Regions from separate parts of the Homo sapiens genome. Here region 1 is linked to region 2. The links are contacts of gene promoters, found by promoter capture Hi-C in human tissues and cell types (Jung and others, 2019). All regions are on one chromosome and are shown on one strand. The core of a region is centred on a gene start or on the middle of the fragment in contact, and the rest is flanking DNA. Distances in the headings are between cores, read along the strand shown. Region 1 overlaps SPATA31H1 (SPATA31 subfamily H member 1). Region 2 holds the start of KRTCAP3 (keratinocyte associated protein 3).

Evidence for each region. Contacts are between HindIII fragments. The study calls those that stand out against the background at their distance.
Region 1: a contact is called between a fragment that was not itself captured here and the fragment with the promoter of KRTCAP3 in region 2, in 6 of the 25 tissues and cell types used here (H1 embryonic stem cells, IMR-90 fibroblasts, bladder and 3 more).

What each region holds. Positions count from the first base shown.
Region 1 is chr2:27,571,772-27,575,321 of GRCh38, forward strand. SPATA31H1 (SPATA31 subfamily H member 1) reads left to right here. Exons shown (of 5, transcript NM_032266.5): 5 at 1-3,550. Among named protein-coding and RNA genes, the nearest start is that of ZNF512, 9.5 kb to the right of the region's middle. The HindIII fragment of the contact is 4,221 bases long and covers 1-3,550 here.
Region 2 is chr2:27,440,491-27,444,069 of GRCh38, forward strand. It overlaps KRTCAP3 (keratinocyte associated protein 3), which reads left to right and starts at 1,891. Exons shown (of 7, transcript NM_173853.4): 1 at 1,891-1,950; 2 at 2,089-2,273; 3 at 2,352-2,411; 4 at 2,584-2,790; 5 at 2,908-3,042; 6 at 3,459-3,571. The coding sequence starts at 1,923. The coding sequence ends at 3,566. NRBP1 (nuclear receptor binding protein 1) reads left to right here. Exons shown (of 18, transcript NM_013392.4): 12 at 1-18; 13 at 162-212; 14 at 315-450; 15 at 637-690; 16 at 777-840; 17 at 1,077-1,132; 18 at 1,218-1,769. The coding sequence ends at 1,322. RefSeq lists an enhancer at 2,026-2,568. The HindIII fragment of the contact is 11,668 bases long and covers 1-3,579 here.

The sequences.
Region 1 (3,550 bases), core at 584-3,083, 130 kb after region 2:
AGATCCACATCTGCAATGTGTAAAACCTGTAAAGTTGACCCCATGGCAAAAGAGGCAGGCAGTAAAATTTGTGAATATAACCAGAGGAGAAGAGTTTGAAGAAGTAAAATCTGTGGATTTAGCCCTAAAGCAACAGTTTCAAGGGATGGCACCTGTGGATTTAACCCTTGAGCCTGAACAGGATGGTCAGATATCTGTAAACTCACAAGAGCAGCAATGTGTGAATTTTGAGCAAGTAAAGAAAGGGTCTGAGTCAGAAGGTGTAATGTCTTTGGAGTTAATTCCAGAGCCAAAATCTGAAGGTATAAAATCGGTAGACCTCAAGTCTGACCTACAGTCGAAAGGTATAAAATCATCTGAATTGACTCCAGAATCAAATATGCAAGATGTAAAAGCTAAAGAGTTCAAACATGAACCACAGTTGCAAAGTATGAAATCTCCCAAGTTGACCCCAGGACCACAGTTGCACCAAGTGAAACCCTTGGGCTCGACTGTAGAGCCACAGATTCAAAGTGTGAAAATTGTGGAGTTAAACAAAGAGCTAGAGCTTGGAAGAATGAAATCTGTTCAGTGGATAACAAGACCTGAGTTCCAAGGTCTAAAATCTGTAGGGTTAAATCTTGGGTCACAATCTCGAAGTGTCAAACCTGCAGAATTGAAACTTTCCATACAGTTGGGAGATATGATAGCATCTAAATTGGTTCTAGAGCCAAAACTTCAAGGTGCAAAACCTATGGAGTTTAACCGTGGGCCACAGTTGCAGTGTGTAAAAACCTCTGAGTTGTCTTCAGGACCACAGCTGCAAAAAGGGAAAATGCTAGCATCCACCTCAGAGCCACAACTTCAAGGTGTGAAAACTGTGGAGTTAAACCAAGACTCACAGCTTACAAGTGTGAAATCTGTGCAGTGGATACCAGGACCTGAGTTCCAAGGTGTAAAAACTATAGGGTTAAATCTTGGTTCACAATCTCAAGGTGTCAAACCTGGAGAGTCGAAATCTTCCATAGAGTCAGGAGGTGTAAAGTCATCTCAACTGACTCTAGGGCCAAAACTTCAAAGTGTAACATCTATGGAGTTTAACCTTGGGTCACAGTTGCACTTTGTGAAAGCTCCTGAGTTGTCCCAAGGACCACAGCTGCAAAAAGGGAAAATTCCAGCATCGACCTCAGAGCCATATTTTCAAGGTGTGAAAACTGTAGAGCTAAACCAAGACTCACAGCTTGGAAATGCGAAATCTGTGCAGTGGATATCAGGACCTGAGTTCCAAGGTGTAAAAACTGTAGGGTTGAATCTTGGTTCACAATCTCGAGGTGTCAAGCCTGCAGAGTTGAAATCCTCCACAGAGTCGGGAGGTGTAAAATCATCTGAATTGACTCTAGGGCCAAAACTTCAAGGTGCAAAACCTGTGGAGTTTAACTTTGGGCCACAGTTGCAATGTGTGAAAACTCCTAAGATGTCCCGAGGACCACAGTTGCAGAAAGGGAAAATTCTGGCGTCAACCTCAGAGCCACAGCTTCAAGGTGTAAAAGATGTGGAGTCAAACAAAGACTCACAGCTTGGAAGTGTGAACTCTGTGCAGTGGATACCAGGACCTGAGTTCCAAGGTGTGAAATCTGTGCTAAAATGTGGTTCACAATCTCGAGTTGTCACAACTGTAGAATTGAAACCTTCAGTACAATTAAGAAATGTGAAGTCATCTGAGTTGACTCCAAGGCCAAAGCTCCAAAGTATACAACCTTTGACATCACTCCAGGAACATCAGTTGCCAGGGCTCAAACCTATTGCTTTGAAATCTGGGCTACAGTTGAGAACTGTGAAATCATGTGGCCCAATTTCAACATCAAAGCTCTGTGATATAAAATCTATGGCATTCAAACCTGGGCTTCACTCGCAAGATGTGAAATCTTCTGAGTTGACCCCAAGACCACAGCTGCACAAAGTGAAACCCTTGGAGGCATGCCCAGGAACACAGCTGCAAGATGTGAAGTCTCCAGCGTTTACACAAGTGCCACAGTTTTCAGGGGTGAAATCTGGAGTATTAAGCCAAGAGCTACCATTACAAAGTGATAAAACTGTAGCGCTGAACTCCTTACTACACTTGAAAAGCAAGAAATCATCTGAATTGGCTCATCAGACAGAACTTCCAGGTATGAAATCTGAGGAGTTCAACTCTGGGCCACAATGGCAATGTGTCAAATCTTCTAAGTTGAACCCTAAGACAAAGTCCCAAGACATGAAGTTTAGAGAGTTAAACCCCAGTTCACAATTGAAAGATATCCCATATTATGATTTGACCACAAGGACCAAGATTCAAGGTGTCAAATCTACAGACTTCAAACCTGGGCCACAGTTGCAAGGAGTGAAATCTTCTGAGTCGATACCGAAGACAAAGCTTCAAGAAGTGAAATTAATGGAATGCAACTCAGGCCCACGGTTGCAAGATTTGAAATCTTCTAGGTTGATCATTGGTATAAAGTGTCAAGACATTAAATCTATGGATTTCAGTTCTGGACCACACTTACAGACTGTGAAATCTTCTGAAGTGATTCCAGGGGGAAAGCTTCAGGGTGTGAAATCGGTAGAATTCAAACCTAGTCCAAAGTTACAAAGTGAGAAATCTGATTTGACCCTGGGGAGGAAGTTTCCAGGTGTGAAATCTGTAGAGCTGGAATCAGGCCCACAGTTACAAGATATAAAATCTTCTGATCTGATCATGGGTATAAAGCTTCAAGATGTAAAATCTATGAAGTTCAGTTCTGGACAACACTTTCAAGGTATAAAATCTTCTGAGGTAACCTCAGGGACAAGGCTTCAAAGTATGAAATCAATGGATTTCAATTCTGGACAACAGACACAAAGCGAAAAATCTTCTGAGTTGATTCAGGGAACAAACCATCAAGATGTTAAATCTGTAGAATTCCACCATGGTCTAAAGTTACAAGGTGTGACATCTTCTGAGTTAACACCAGAGACAAAGCTTCAAGGTGGGGAATCTGTGGAGTTCAACTCGGGCCCACAGTGGCAAGATACAAAATATTCTAACTCAATAATGGGGACAGAGCTTCAAGATGTAAAATCTATGGAGTTCAGTTCTGGATCACACTTGCAAGGTATGAAATCTTCTGAAGTGATCCCAGCGACAAAGCTTCAAAAAGTGAAATCTGTGCTCATGCCTAGGCCAATGCGGCAAGATGTGAAATCTTCTGAATTGACTGTAGGTACAAAGGTACAGGATAGGACATCTTTGGAGTTAAGCTCAACTTCACAGTTACAAGATAGAAAATTATCTATGTTGACACCAGGGATACACCTTCAGGGTGTGAAATCTGTAGAATATAATCCTGGGGCAAAGTTGGAAGATATGAAATCTGGGTTGATAAAGCTTCAGACGGTGAACTCTACAGAAGGCAACCATGACCCAGAATTGCAGGTTGCAAAACTCTCTAAGTTGGCCTTGGAATCAAAGATTCATAGTGTGGCACCTTCTGAGTTCAATGCTGAAAAGCAGCAGCAAGATGAGAAATCTCATAAATTGAATCCATGGCCAGAC
Region 2 (3,579 bases), core at 641-3,140:
AGAACCAGTTCAGACTTTGTGAGTAACTGAGAGGGTCTGAAAGGGGCAGATTGGTCACGACCACTCTTGAGGCTCTGTAAACTGTCCATTCTCTGGGAATGCTTGAATTTGCTATTTTGCTTGTTTCTTTCCTTCCATCTCCTTTCTCTTTTCTCGTCCAGGTACTCTCAGTCACCAGCTCTGGAATTAGATAAATTCCTTGAAGATGTCAGGTGAGAGCAGAGTGAGAAGCAGGCTTTCTTGAGGAAGCAGGCGGGGTTGGGTATCCTAAGGCGTTCACAGAGCCCATGTGACCTGTCTTCATCTCCCTCCAGGAATGGGATCTATCCTCTGACAGCCTTTGGGCTGCCTCGGCCCCAGCAGCCACAGCAGGAGGAGGTGACATCACCTGTCGTGCCCCCCTCTGTCAAGACTCCGACACCTGAACCAGCTGAGGTGGAGACTCGCAAGGTGGGGGCTGTGTGGGTGTGGATTGTCTCCATGGTTGTGGTGGAAGGGAGAGAGGACATCTCAAATAAGGCTCTATCCTTTAGAGAAAATGCTCCCTAGCAGCCATGCCCTATGGGCTCGAAAGACGTCTAGGTATTGGGTTTTTTATGGACAGGTCTCTAGAGTGACCCTCTCTTCCCTCCCTAGGTGGTGCTGATGCAGTGCAACATTGAGTCGGTGGAGGAGGGAGTCAAACACCACGTAAGGCTCAGGGCTAGGGTTGCGCAGGGCTAGTAGCCAGAGGGTAGGGAAGAAAAGTCTCATTTTCTGACTGTCCTATTCTCCAGCTGACACTTCTGCTGAAGTTGGAGGACAAACTGAACCGGCACCTGAGCTGTGACCTGATGCCAAGTGAGTCTCTCCTTTCCCTCAGAGGATGGAGAGTCTATGAGCCTTATCTTTTAGGGACATATTCAGGGGTGGGGGAGGTGACAAGGCAGTAACACATTGACTCACATAGAATGACTATCTTAGACCCTAAAGCAGTGGGTGGATCTGACTGACAGTTTAGCCCTAGTGGGGCTGTCTGAAGGGCCCCAGGTCCCTCAGTCCCGTACTGTACTCACCCCCTCCTGTTTCTTTGTCAGATGAGAATATCCCCGAGTTGGCGGCTGAGCTGGTGCAGCTGGGCTTCATTAGTGAGGTGAGGTTTCTGCCTTCATCTGCCCTGGCTGCCCCCATGCCTTCTCTTCTCTCAGCCCCCATCTTACTGAGCTCTTCTCCCCCAGGCTGACCAGAGCCGGTTGACTTCTCTGCTAGAAGAGACCTTGAACAAGTTCAATTTTGCCAGGAACAGTACCCTCAACTCAGCCGCTGTCACCGTCTCCTCTTAGAGCTCACTCGGGCCAGGCCCTGATCTGCGCTGTGGCTGTCCCTGGACGTGCTGCAGCCCTCCTGTCCCTTCCCCCCAGTCAGTATTACCCTGTGAAGCCCCTTCCCTCCTTTATTATTCAGGAGGGCTGGGGGGGCTCCCTGGTTCTGAGCATCATCCTTTCCCCTCCCCTCTCTTCCTCCCCTCTGCACTTTGTTTACTTGTTTTGCACAGACGTGGGCCTGGGCCTTCTCAGCAGCCGCCTTCTAGTTGGGGGCTAGTCGCTGATCTGCCGGCTCCCGCCCAGCCTGTGTGGAAAGGAGGCCCACGGGCACTAGGGGAGCCGAATTCTACAATCCCGCTGGGGCGGCCGGGGCGGGAGAGAAAGGTGGTGCTGCAGTGGTGGCCCTGGGGGGCCATTCGATTCGCCTCAGTTGCTGCTGTAATAAAAGTCTACTTTTTGCTAAAAGCGTCGTGTGTTCGCGCCTTTCCCGCCAGGGGGAGCGGGCCCGGGGCGGAGGCGGGGCCCAGGTGGGAGGGGGACCCGGGACGGAGGCGGGGCCCAGGTTGGGGCGGGGCCGGGCCCAGGTACAGCGGCCCTGCGGCTGGCGCGGCGGACGGGATGAGGCGCTGCAGTCTCTGCGCTTTCGGTAACTTCCGGGCCCTGGCGTCTCGTCTCCTTACCCTGGGGCTACCCTTGCCCCGTCCTACTGCCCGCGGTTAACCCGCCGCGAGCCGCCTCTCCCCTCCCCGCCCGACTCAACCCTGCCCTCCCCCGTGCTTTGCAGACGCCGCCCGGGGGCCCAGGCGGCTGATGCGTGTGGGCCTCGCGCTGATCTTGGTGGGCCACGTGAACCTGCTGCTGGGGGCCGTGCTGCATGGCACCGTCCTGCGGCACGTGGCCAATCCCCGCGGCGCTGTCACGCCGGAGTACACCGTAGCCAATGTCATCTCTGTCGGCTCGGGGCTGCTGGTGAGCGCGGCAGGCGACCCGGGCGGGGGCCGGGCTCCCGGAGAGCCCAGCAGGCCAAAGGCTTTGTGTCTTCCACAGAGCGTTTCCGTGGGACTTGTGGCCCTCCTGGCGTCCAGGAACCTTCTTCGCCCTCCACTGGTGAGAGGGACTTCCCTGGAGCTTTTAACGAGTAGGCTTGAGTCAGGGAAATGGGGGCTGACTGAGCTTGGTCTTTCAATAGATTGGAGGAGCCTCAGAGAAACTGGGTGTCTAGTCACTGGGAGAGTTAGCCAGGCCCAGGCTGCTCACCCTGATCTCCTGTCCCTGCCAGCACTGGGTCCTGCTGGCACTAGCTCTGGTGAACCTGCTCTTGTCCGTTGCCTGCTCCCTGGGCCTCCTTCTTGCTGTGTCACTCACTGTGGCCAACGGTGGCCGCCGCCTTATTGCTGACTGCCACCCAGGACTGCTGGATCCTCTGGTACCACTGGATGAGGGGCCGGGACATACTGACTGCCCCTTTGACCCCACAAGAATCTATGTGAGCACATTCTCTTCCTTCTTGTGGTCTACAAAGCCTTGGTCCTGCCCTTTTAATTTCCCCTATTTGCTGCACTTGCCCTACTCCCTCCTACTCCCCATCCTTCTTGCTTTTCAGGATACAGCCTTGGCTCTCTGGATCCCTTCTTTGCTCATGTCTGCAGGGGAGGCTGCTCTATCTGGTTACTGCTGTGTGGCTGCACTCACTCTACGTGGAGTTGGGCCCTGCAGGAAGGACGGACTTCAGGGGCAGGTAAGGAAGGCAAACAGGAAGGGTTCATTCCACAGAGACTGGCTGTGTTGAAAAGATGCTGACCGGCCGGGTGCGGAGGCTCACACCTGTAATCCCAGCACTTTGGGAGGCTGAGGCAGGCGGATCACTTGAGGTCAGGAGTTTGAGACCAGCTTGGACAACATGGTGAAACCTCGTCTCTACTAAAAATACAAAAAATTAGGTGGGGTGGTGGGCGCCTGTAATCCCAGCTACTTGGAAGGCTGAGGCAGGAGAATCGCTTGAACCCGGAAGGCGGAGGTTGCAGTGAACCGAGATCACGCCACTGCACTCCAGCCTGGGCAACAGAGTGAGGCTCCGTCACAAAAAACAAAACAAAAAAAAGATGCTGACCTATCATTCAGGGCGAGGGTGTCTAACTCTATCTTCTTCTGCAGCTAGAGGAAATGACAGAGCTTGAATCTCCTAAATGTAAAAGGCAGGAAAATGAGCAGCTACTGGATCAAAATCAAGAAATCCGGGCATCACAGAGAAGTTGGGTTTAGGACAGGTAATGGG